Regions from separate parts of the Homo sapiens genome. Here all the other regions are linked to region 2. The links are contacts of gene promoters, found by promoter capture Hi-C in blood cells and fetal thymus (Javierre and others, 2016). All regions are on one chromosome and are shown on one strand. Each heading gives the region's core, a stretch centred on a gene start or on the middle of the fragment in contact. The rest is flanking DNA. Distances are from core to core; before and after follow the strand shown.

Region 1 (3,790 bases), core at 673-3,172, 260 kb after region 2:
CGCCTCCCGGGTTCAAGCGATTCTCCTGCCTCAGCCTCCCGAGTAGCTGGGATTTCAGGAGCCCACCGCCATGCCTGGCTAATTTTTTTGTATGTTTAGTAGAAACAGGGTTTTGCCACGTTGGCCAGGCTGGCCTCGAACTCCTGACCTCAAGTGATCCGCCCATCTCGGCCTCCCAAAGTGCTGGGATTATAGGCATGAGCCACCGGGCAGGGCAGGCTTTTTACTTTTTGTGGAGGTGAGGGGGCTGTCTCGCTTTATTGCCCAGGCTGGTCTTGATCTCCTGGGCTCAAGCGATTCTTCTGCCTTAGTCTTTCAAATTGCTGGGATTACAGGTCTGACCTAGGGCGTCAGGCCGTTACTGCTTAGTTTCGTTTAGTGTTTATTTTAGAATACTGTGTTAATTGCTCCTTTTGAAAAGAGAAATCCAACAAACACAATTCTCACTAGAGGAATGTAGTCTTTTTTTTTTTTTTTTTTTTTGAGACGTAGTCTTGCTCTGTTACCCAGGCTGGAGTGCAATAGCGTGATCTCGGCTCACTGCAGCCTCTGCCTCCCGGAGTCAAGCGATTCTCCTGCCTCAGCCTCCCAAGTTGCTGGGACTACAGATGCACACCACCACGCCCGGCTACTTTTTGTATTTGTTTAGTAGAGACGGGCTTTCATTATGTTGGGCAGGCTGATTTCGAACTCCTGACCCTATGATCCGCCCTCCTTGGCCTCCCAAAGTGTTGGGATTACAGGCATGAGCCACTGAGCCCAGCCGGAATGCAGTCATCTTTAAAACTTAAAAAGCCCGCCCTGAAATGCTAATGGGCAGCTATCCTTCTTTGTTCTCTCGTTTCTGTATTAATATTTCACCCTTTTCTGACAAGTGCACATGAATAAACAGCCTGTGTATTAATGATAAATTTGTATACACAGCATGGACCTATACACAAAATAACGCAGTGAAACCTTGGTGTCACAACCTCGGTTTCTATTCTTGTATACCTTTATAAACGCATTTTTACTGCAAAGAAACACCAGTAAGATAAATTAGTGCATGAAATGTGAGCAAGGATTTCAATAAAGAACTGACCAGTAACGTCAGAAGCGTTCGTTAAAAATTAGGACAGTGAACATTGAGATTTCAGGCATCGTATGTGTATTCCAGCACTTTACAGAAAAGGTGGGTGGCTCTGAAAAGAGCCTTTGGTTTCTGGGACTCGGGATCACTGACGGATTTGACTAGTAATCATTTCACTTGCCCTTGGCCTTATGGTGGCTCTCCGTCTTCTTAGGCAGCAATACGGCCTGGATGTTGGGCAGGACACCGCCCTGCGCGATGGTCACGCGACCTAGAAGCTTATTTAGCTCCTCGTCGTTGCGGATGGCTAGCTGCAGGTGGCGCGGGATGATGCGGGTCTTCTTATTGTCGCGAGCCGCGTTGCCAGCTAGCTCTAAGATCTCGGCCGTCAGATATTCCAGCACCGCTGCCAGGTACACTGGAGCGCCGGCCCCGACTCGTTCGGAGTAGTTGCCTTTGCGGAGGAGGCGGTGCACACGGCCAACTGGAAACTGAAGACCGGCCCTGGAAGAACGCGTTTTAGCTTTTGCCCGAGCTTTGCCGCCTTGCTTTCCACGTCCAGACATAGTGGCTTCCTAACAGCAGAAGAACTAACAATCCACTGAATAAAGAAAAAGAATGGGCTCGATGGAGGAATAAGAAGCTAGTTATAGTCATCGGTAGAATTGTGAAAGGCGCAATTTGATTGGTTAAAATTGTTCTTTGACGAGCCAACCAATTAGAAAGGAAATAAGGTGAAGGCTATTTTACATGTATGCGTCACTAACACATTGCCCAATCAGAGCTGGATATTTTGAATTCTTTATTTGCATGAAAGGCCTATAAAAGGAGAGACTCTAGACACGAGCTTTTATTTAAGTGCGTTCATTCTCACTGCTGTTATTGTTTTCTGACAGCATGCCTGAACCAGCTAAGTCAGCTCCTGCTCCGAAGAAGGGTTCCAAGAAGGCTGTGACCAAGGCGCAGAAGAAGGATGGCAAGAAGCGCAAGCGCAGTCGTAAGGAGAGCTACTCCGTGTATGTGTACAAGGTGCTAAAACAGGTTCACCCCGATACTGGCATCTCATCCAAGGCCATGGGCATCATGAATTCCTTCGTTAACGACATCTTCGAACGCATCGCAGGCGAGGCTTCCCGTCTGGCCCACTACAACAAGCGCTCGACCATTACCTCCAGGGAGATCCAGACCGCCGTGCGTCTGCTGCTTCCCGGAGAGCTGGCCAAGCACGCAGTGTCCGAAGGTACCAAGGCTGTCACCAAGTATACAAGCTCCAAGTAAATGTGTGCTTAGGTGCTTTAAAACTCAAAGGCTCTTTTCAGAGCCACTCAAGTCTCACATAAAGAGCTTTAATATTGAATTTCACCGTTTTCTAGGGAATAATTTTTCCGATTTTGTAATCCCAGCACTTTGGGAGGCCGAGGCGTGCGGATCGAGACCAGTTTGGCTAACGTGGTTAAATCTCGTTTCTACTAAAAATACAAATATTAGCCGGGCGTGGGGCAGTCGCGTGTCATCCCAGAGACTCGGGAGGCTGCCGCAGGAGAATCACTTAAACCCAGCAAGCAAAGGTTGCAGTGAAAAGACATGGCGCTTTTGCATTCTAGCCTGGGCGACAAAGGCGAGGCTTCGTCTCAAAAAAAATTGATCAGGAGATACTCCTGTTCTGTGTTGGCAAGATCCTGTAATCCTAGCACTTTGGGAGGTCGATGCATGAGGCTTTCTTCAGCTCAGGAGTTAACAGATTTGCCTGGGCAACATAGAACTCGTCTCTGCAAAAAAATGAAGCTAACCAGGTGTGACGGCTTGCGTCTGTACTATCATTTACTCGGTAGGCTGAGGTGGTAGGATAGCTTAAACTCTCGGGCTAGAGACTGCAGGAACATGTGAATACGCTAGTGCAATTCCAGCCTGGGCAACACTGGAAAGGGTAGGAAGAGTAGTCTTTGGGTCCCTAAAGATCACCTGATAACAAGTTTGACTTTTCTGAGCACTCTTGTGGAGTTTGTTGTGGAGGGAATACCATGGGCATTGGCAATGTAAAGTTGATCTAAAAAATCTCGTTTTCCGCCGTGCGCGGTGGCTCACGCCTCTAATCCCATCACTTTGGGAGGCCGAGACGGGCGGATCACGAGGTCAGGAGGTCGAGACCATCCTGGCTAACACTGTGAAACCCTGTCTCTACTAAAAAAATACAAACAAAATTAGCCGGGCGTGGTGGCACTCACCTGTAGTTTCAGCTACTCTGGAAGCTGAGGCTGGAGAGTCACTTGAACCCGGGAGGCGGAGGTTGCAGTGATCAGAGATCGCGCCACTGCACTCCATCCTGGGCGAAAGAGCTAGATTCCATCTCATAAAAAAAAAAAAAAAAAAAAAAAAAAAAAAATTACAGTTTTGGCTGGCTGGGCGCAGTGGCTCTCGCCTGTAATCCCAGCATTTTGGGAGGCGAGGCTGGTGGATCACTTGAGGTCAGGAGTTCAAAAACAGCCTGACCCACATGGTGAAACCCCGTATCTACTAAAAATAACAAAATTAGCCGGGCGTGGTGGCGCATGCCTATGTTACCCCAGCTACTTCGGAGACTGAGGCAGGAGAAACGCTTGAAACCGGGAGGCGGGGGTTGCAGTGAGCCAAGATCCCGCCATTTCATTCCAGCCTGGACAACAAGAACGAAACTCCGTCTCAAACATAGAAACCATTAGTTTATACTCATTAATCAAATTT
Region 2 (3,924 bases), core at 1,065-3,564:
GGTGTGAAGAAGAAGAAGAGGAAGAAGAAAAAGAGGAAGAAGAAGAAGGAGGAAAATAAAAAGACAAAACTAACATAAAAATTTCAGGAGCTTCTTTGTAAAATGAATAGAAATTCTTCAATAGGCCTCTGGGGCTGAGATGTGAGGAGGAGGAGGAAGAAAATGAGAGTGGGAAGGACGCACTGGAGGACTGTTACTATCTGAATCCTATCGCCTACAAAACATCAACTGATCAATCAGGCACAAGAAAGTGTTCTGCTTCTTTCTGTCACCTTAGAAATAACCTGGACGTCAAACATCGGTGAAAAGAAGAGAAAAAAAGGAAAATGAAATAACCTGGAAGCTCCTGATGATTTGAGATCAGATCTTTACATACTAAGAGATGGTTGCTATATCTGGGGGCCTTGAGTGAAAGGCAGCAGTGGGAGCCCAGCACCCATTTCCAGACAACTCCACAGCCCAGAGCCCAAACTCAGCAGTTATGAGTTGAATTTATTTTGTCAAACAAAAAGAGTCAAACTCTGTAAAATATTGCAAGAGATTTATTCTCAGCCAGATATGAGTGCCCAGTGGCTTGTGACACAGCCCCGAGATCCTGTGAACATGTGCCGAAGTGGTTGGGCTCCAGCTTCTTTTTATACTTTATATTTATTGAGATGTTTTAACTCTGCAGGCCAGAGAGAGAGACCTATCTGAAACCAGCTTGGGCAGCTGGAGAAGAATGAGGGTGAGCAGACATCTGGGCAAGCCGGAGTTTGGGAAAACTGCCATCTTCGACCTTTCTGGAGCAGCAAGATACTGGTGTGAGTCTGTCAGGAGCTTCAGCCTAGCTGATGAATAGACAGGAGAGAGCGATGGGCTCTACAGACCCGCTCAGCAGTTCTTTCCAACTTGGAGTGCTCTGGTCATTTGCATCTGAATCCTGCTGTGTCTTCTCTCCAGTGGAGATTTTCAAACCAGGCTGCCATCAGCACCCACTCACCACCCTAAGTTTGGTAAATGATATATAAAGCTTCAAACTGGCCCTACAACTCAAAAGGAGACATAGGAGAAGGGAGGCGTTCATGGGTTGCATATAAATGAGCACAGTTTGAAATCACTACACTAAAAAAAAATCTTTCAACTATAATAATATGTTATTTACTTTCAGCAATGAGTCAGTCAGGAATTTAGCCCAGGAAATCAACAGAAAAATAGACTCCTCCCTCCCCTGAGATGCTGCCTGCACTGGATTCATGTAAATTTAAATATAAATTTAGATTGATGTTCTTTCACCATCCTCCCCCATTATCCTTCTCTCACTTCAATCATAAATGCTCTTCTGTTTGCATCATAAATTTTTCCCCTCAATCCAGTACATTTTTCTTTTTTCCTTGTATTTATTTTATTTTATTTTAATTTTTTAGAGATGAAGTCTCACTATGTTTCCCAGTCTGATCTTGAACTTTTGGGCTCAAGTGATCCTCCCAACTCAGCCTCTCAAAGTGCTGAAATTACAGGCGTGAGCCACTATGCCCTGCTGATCCTGTACATTTTTTGAGTTCATTGTACCAATAGTTCCTCCATTAGCTTGGTTAAACATTCACAAAACAAAACAAAATGCCCCCAAATGTGACAGCTGAGTCCTTGTAGGAAAAAATCCTTAAGTGAAGCTTAGTATCCTGGGGTTCATTGCATATTCATATATACATACTTGGGGACCCATGCACTAAAAAGACAGACTCCTTTTGTTTACAATAATTCAGCCTTTGCTGTTAAGGTGATTAAGGCAAGTAGGTGTGGGTGGAGAGATAGTGACAAAGGAAGTGAACTAGAGGAATAAAGATCAAAAGATGGGAGGAGGTCACTAGGTCACAGTTAAGCAAGGGCAAGCAGGCAGGAACCAGCCCTGTTGCACTGGTGTACTTGGTCACCTGGGCAGGGTGTTGACGGGCTGTTGTGGGGATGTTGGGGACATCTAGAAAATATGGAGTTGAAAATTTACAATATACATATGAATCTTTAAGGCACATCTCTTTTTAGAACCTTTTGGAATATGTTCCTAAACATAACCAGGAGATATTTTAGGAGTCTTTTCGTCTCCTGGCTGGGGGCAGTGGCTCATGCCTGTAATCACAGCACTTTGGGAGGCCAAGGTGGGTGGATCACTTGAGGTCAGGAGTTCAGTACCAGCCTGGCCGGCCAGCCTGGCCAACATGGTGAAACCCCGTCTCTATTAAAAATACAAAAAATTTGCCAGGTGTGGTGGCGTATGCCTGTATTCCCAGCTACTCCGGAGGCTGAGGCCAGAGAATTGCTTGGCTGGGAAGGTGGATGCTGCAGTGAGCCGAGATTGTGTCACTGCACTCCAGCCTGGGCAACAGTGAGACTCTGACAAAAAAAAAAAAAAGGAGTCTTTGCTCCTTTCTGACTGTAATTAGTTCCTAAGAACATGCAGTTGGAAGGTTTCTCTATTCAGGTTGTCCCTCTTCAGCCAAATCTCAGCCTCTTCAGGTCCTTACTCTTTGCATTCTACCCTCTCCATCCTCACCCCTTTCTCTGTGCCAGTTCCCCTCTCAGCTTTTCAGTCCCTTTTCTTCCAGGCCTTGTAGCCCTGGCTCTAAGCAATTTTCCCCACTTACTCCTTAATATTCCTATCTGAAAATCATAGCCCACAAAAAAAGGTAATCAATAGTTTTCTGTTGTTAATAAAAACTTTAGACAAATTAAATTTAGCAGGGTTTAATTTGAACAAAGAACAATTTGCAAACCATCAGAACGATCGGGCAGCCATCAGAGAGGTTCAGTGAGCTCCATTCCACAAGGGAAGTGACACACAGAAACAGCTTAATTGGTTACAGCTCAGAGTTGGCCTTATTTGAACATAGTCTGATCACTTGGCTGCAGGGTTGACTGCCGCCGACTGAAGTTCGGCTACTGGGATTGGCTGAGACTCAGCTATTTGTTACAAAAGTATACTCCCATGCCTTAAGCTTTCAGTTAGTTTACATACTAAGTTAGGTTGCAGTTCATTATTTAAGGGCTCAAGAGCCATCCCTCAGGCTAAATGTATACATATCTCATACCAAATTTAGTTTAATTTAACACAATTATTTCTGCTTTAGTTAAGATTCTCTGATCCAGAATAAAGGAAAAGAAAGCATGTGCTGTACACTCGGTCCGAGAAACACTAAGAGAATCCTCTTTGTAGGAATTCGTGTTTTGATTGGCTCAGAGGTACCATTTCTCATCAGTTGCTGGGCAGAAGCCACTGGGGACGGTTAGAATGAAAACTGAAACGATATTGAATTGTACACATTGACGAAAAGTTTCAGCCCTACCTCTCAAAGTGTTTGCAGCTCTCTGTGTTTACATATTTGAATCATTAATGTGTGTGTTACGTGTACAATCAGTGTTTCTTCACATTCAGCTGTCTTTTATATCATAACAGAAATATCAGGAGAACTGAGTGGAAAAATGAAAAGATTTTAAGAAGAGAAGATAGGTATTAATTAAAATGATACTGTGGCAGTTTGCAGACATCCCCTTGCATGTAATTGTTACATGGAGGATATTATCATCTTTTGTTTTGGATATTATCATCTTTTACCACAGAGCCAAATGAAAGTATGAACATAATGAAAACTAGATCTATTGCATCTATTTTAGTACCTCCAAAATTCAGGTCTCAGATCCATTACCGAATTATAGAATTTTCTGGTATCCAGAGTTAGTGCTGTCTATAACTGCATATTTTATATTTTTCACAAAATTATTTTGGGTGTGACTGAAGCTTTCTTCACCTCTTGCTCCTTATTTGTGCCATACTGTATTTTCATGTGTATTTGTTTCTCACTCTGACAATGAAATATGTTCTAAGGTTAACCTTTGGGTAGACTGTGGGGGATGTCTTTGTAAGGGGTCCTTGCTACAAACCTTGGGACC
Region 3 (4,040 bases), core at 936-3,435, 440 kb after region 2:
TCTTCTGGCTCTGTCGCCCACGCTGGAGTGTGGTGGCTCTATGTGAACTCACTGCAACCTCCTCCTCTCGGGTTCAAGCGATCCTCCCACCTCAGCTTCTCGAGTAACTGGAACTACAGGCGTGCACTACCAAGCCCGGCTTTTTTTTTTCTTTTTCTCCCCCGTTTCTTTTTTGGTTATTTTACTGGAGACAGGGTTTCTCCATGTTGTCCACGCTGGTCTCGAACGCCTGACCCGCCGTCCTCGGCCTCCCAAAGTGCTGGTATTACGGGCATGAGCCACTGCGCCCGATTTGAAGGACCTCTTAAATATCTATTTAGAAATTGGTCGGAGTCCACTCCTTTCCAAAAACATGAGTCACAATCCGGGAAAAGCACGAGCGGCTGAAAGTCAAAATAACCAGAACAAAACCTCCACTCATGCTTAAAAAAGGTATTTTGACAAAATCCTAATTCGGCCAATTATTATTAGTATTCAAGTCGAAGGCTCGTCAAGCCAGACTGGGGATTGGGTCAAACATAAACCTTACACCAGACGGAAGGATTACATGCAAATGAAGGATGCAGATTCTGATTTCCCATTGGGTATTTGACATTAGCCAATGGGAGAATTCCTCACAGCCTACCTCCAGTCAGTATAAATACTTCTCTGCCTTGCGTTCTAATGTAGTTTCATTACATTTTCTTGTGGCGATTTTCCCTTATCAGAAGTAGTTATGTCTGGTCGCGGCAAACAAGGCGGTAAAGCTCGCGCCAAGGCTAAGACTCGGTCTTCTCGTGCAGGTTTGCAGTTTCCTGTGGGCCGAGTGCACCGCCTGCTCCGCAAAGGCAACTACTCCGAGCGCGTCGGGGCTGGCGCGCCGGTGTATCTCGCGGCGGTGCTTGAGTACCTGACCGCCGAGATCCTGGAGCTGGCGGGCAATGCGGCCCGCGACAACAAGAAGACCCGCATCATCCCGCGCCACCTGCAATTGGCCATCCGCAATGACGAGGAGCTTAATAAACTCTTGGGGCGTGTGACCATCGCGCAGGGTGGCGTTTTGCCTAATATTCAGGCGGTGCTGCTGCCTAAGAAAACTGAGAGCCATCATAAGGCCAAGGGAAAGTGAAGAGTTAACGCTTCATGCACTGCTGTTTTTCTGTCAGCAGACAAAATCAGCCTAACAGCAAAGGCTCTTTTCAGAGCCACCTACGACTTCCATTAAATGAGCTGTTGTGCTTTGGATTATGCCGCCCATAAAGATGTTTTTGAGGTGTTTTTAATGGCTTTGAGTGTGGCACTTTTAGTAATTTGTCCTGCAGAAATTAGATCCATAGAAACCTCAGGAATTCTAGGTATGTGGGAGAAGTGCCATGCAGCACAAAACATGTTTACAGGGGTGATTCGCGTTAAGTTTCACACACAGCAGTTACTACATTTTAGAGGAAGGAAATTATACCCATGAGTGCATTCCTAACTATCTTGAATGGAAGTGTTAAAACCCGCATGCCCCACACAAGTTTGAATATGTCATACCATTTGCTGTAGCAATTAATGGCATACACAATTGAGAGCACACACATTACCACTGAACATTTGAGTATGTATTTCCCAAAATGAGCTTTTTTCCAGTTTGGGGATGTTTTGCTTTGTTTTGGGGTGGAGTCTCCCTCTCGCCCAAGCTGCAGTGCAGCGGCGTGATAACAGCTCACTGTAACCTCGAACTCGGGCTCAAGCGATCCTCTTGACAGCCTTCTGAGTAGCTGGGATTACAGGCGAGAGCCGCCACGCCCGGCTAAGAGCATTTTTCTAATTGCCCACACTTCTTATGCGACACCCAGAAAAATACAATTTTAAATAAAGCGCATATGCAAATTTCCCTAATCGTCTCCAATATTCTCTGATTTCTTTTTTATATTTTAACTAGAAACAATTGGAGGTTTCCGCGTTGCTTTGTGTGGTTGTAAATTTTAAGACTTCAGGAAACTTTTCCAGTACAAGACTTGTCCACAGTGGATATAGCAGCTAAGGGGTTAACAAAATGACGTCAGAGTAGCTACGGTAATGGGCAGGAGCCTCTCTTAATCTGCAACCAGGCACAGAGATGGACCAATCCAAGAAGGGCGCGGGGATTTTTGAATTTTCTTGGGTCCAATAGTTGGTGGTCTGACTCTATAAAAGAAGAGTAGCTCTTTCCTTTCCTCCACAGACGTCTCTGCAGGCAAGCTTTTCTGTGGTTTTGCCATGGCTCGTACTAAACAGACAGCTCGGAAATCCACCGGCGGTAAAGCGCCACGCAAGCAGCTGGCTACCAAGGCTGCTCGCAAGAGCGCGCCGGCTACCGGCGGCGTGAAAAAGCCTCACCGTTACCGCCCGGGCACTGTGGCTCTGCGCGAGATCCGCCGCTACCAAAAGTCGACCGAGTTGCTGATTCGGAAGCTGCCGTTCCAGCGCCTGGTGCGAGAAATCGCCCAAGACTTCAAGACCGATCTTCGCTTCCAGAGCTCTGCGGTGATGGCGCTGCAGGAGGCTTGTGAGGCCTACTTGGTAGGGCTCTTTGAGGACACAAACCTTTGCGCCATCCATGCTAAGCGAGTGACTATTATGCCCAAAGACATCCAGCTCGCTCGCCGCATTCGCGGAGAAAGAGCGTAAATGTAAAGTCACTTTTTCATCAGTCTTAAAACCCAAAGGCTCTTTTCAGAGCCACCCACTTATTCCAACGAAAGTAGCTGTGATAATTTTTTGTTGTCTTAACAGAACAAATTTCTAAGGACCCCCCCGGAAAGCATTAGACTATGGTCTTAAAGTTGATTAACAGAAATAACGGTTTGGTCAGTCTTGCAGTGTAGGTTATTTCTGACCTTATTAAGGTGCTATTTGGAGAGAAGCTGTGTAAGTCCACTATCATTCAGGCCTCTAGCTTGCTATGATTAGCATTTGTTTAAACAACTTTGTAAGAGTAAGGGAAAAATCTGGTAAGTAGTTAACTGGCGCTTACTAGGCATTTTTGCAAAGCTTTGAAAAGATTAGAAAATTGTGTCTTGCGAGTTCCAGTGTCTTCCTCAAAATGCTTAGGAAGATTTTCTCAGCTCAATACATAGTCCCCTAGGTTTTCTCATATATTATATATATATATATATATATATATACTGTTAAATTCATTTGGCTGTTAACATTAACCTGAAATTTATTCTGGTGCAAAATGTGAGGCAGGGATCTAACTGGCTCTCATTTTATCCATAGCTAGCTACCCACTTTAAATCTGTCAGTCTGTCGACCAAGCATAATTTAATCCCTTATATATGAATTTTTATATGTGTGGCTTTGCTTGTAAATAGTCTATCTGGTTGCATTGCTTTGTCTCCTCTAGGACTATGCACCATGACATGCCACATTCTTTTTTTCAGTACTTCTTGCCTGTAGTTATTAAAATCTAGAATTTACAAGTTTTAACCATTTTCTTTCTGTTGATCTTGCTTTTCGGTTTTGGAGGTTGGGGATTGAGTACTGGAAGAAAATTTAGAGGGATGGGAATACTGTACGCAAACAAAAGTAATATTTACTTTAAAATTTTTATATTTTGTATTTTTTTATCATATAGCTTTTACATCACATTTTACAGACTAACTTTAGAACAACCACAGAATGTCCAACATTAAAACTACTAATTCCAAAGACCTTGCCTCACATTCTTTTTTACAATAAATATTTTTTACACCTAACATTCTTTCTTGGCCTACATCTAGAATGTAAACTGATGTACCATACTAAAATCGCCTGACCAACTGTCAACAACAACAAATCACACACACAAAAGATTAAATTTGAATTGCATCGTTTACTTAAATTCATTTGTGTTCCAGCTTTTAATAAGGCAGTTTTTGGTTTATAAAGTAATATTTGCATTTTAAAAATTATGAAAATGAATATGTCAGTTTGTTTTATGATTCGTTTTTCTTGACTCTTATACAAGCGACTCTAACTGGCATAGACATTTGTTATCCACAGACAGTATAGATATGTTAGAGATGCCAATGGACTTGGTCTATGCCAAGGTG

Evidence for each region. The method cuts DNA at HindIII sites, captures the fragments that hold promoters and counts their contacts. A CHiCAGO score of 5 or more calls a contact.
Region 1: a contact is called between the fragment with the promoter of H2BC8 here and a fragment that was not itself captured in region 2, in 1 of 17 cell types (M0 macrophages). The highest score is 5.3, in M0 macrophages.
Region 3: a contact is called between the fragment with the promoter of H3C2 here and a fragment that was not itself captured in region 2, in 1 of 17 cell types (naive CD4 T cells). The highest score is 5.4, in naive CD4 T cells.

What each region holds. Positions count from the first base shown.
Region 1 is chr6:26,214,820-26,218,609 of GRCh38, reverse strand. H2BC8 (H2B clustered histone 8) reads left to right here and starts at 1,922. Exons shown (of 1, transcript NM_003518.4): 1 at 1,922-2,410. The coding sequence starts at 1,967. The coding sequence ends at 2,347. It overlaps H2AC8 (H2A clustered histone 8), which reads right to left and starts at 1,689. Exons shown (of 1, transcript NM_021052.4): 1 at 1,173-1,689. The coding sequence starts at 1,635. The coding sequence ends at 1,243. RefSeq lists enhancers at 869-978, 894-1,545, 1,259-1,678, 1,546-2,197, 2,109-2,458 and 2 more. The HindIII fragment of the contact is 5,797 bases long and covers 1,350-3,790 here.
Region 2 is chr6:26,473,223-26,477,146 of GRCh38, reverse strand. It overlaps LOC285819 (a long non-coding RNA gene), which reads left to right. Exons shown (of 4, transcript NR_038992.1): 3 at 1-995. It also overlaps a transcript of BTN2A1 not described here. Among named protein-coding and RNA genes, the nearest start is that of BTN2A1, 17 kb to the right of the region's middle. RefSeq lists enhancers at 1-206, 3,263-3,312. The HindIII fragment of the contact is 1,320 bases long and covers 1,655-2,974 here.
Region 3 is chr6:26,030,244-26,034,283 of GRCh38, reverse strand. H3C2 (H3 clustered histone 2) reads left to right here and starts at 2,185. Exons shown (of 1, transcript NM_003537.4): 1 at 2,185-2,695. The coding sequence starts at 2,224. The coding sequence ends at 2,634. H2AC4 (H2A clustered histone 4) reads left to right here and starts at 666. Exons shown (of 1, transcript NM_003513.3): 1 at 666-1,192. The coding sequence starts at 716. The coding sequence ends at 1,108. RefSeq lists enhancers at 139-188, 229-288, 592-1,221, 2,159-2,278, 2,319-2,548 and a silencer at 709-808. The HindIII fragment of the contact is 2,287 bases long and covers 1-2,207 here.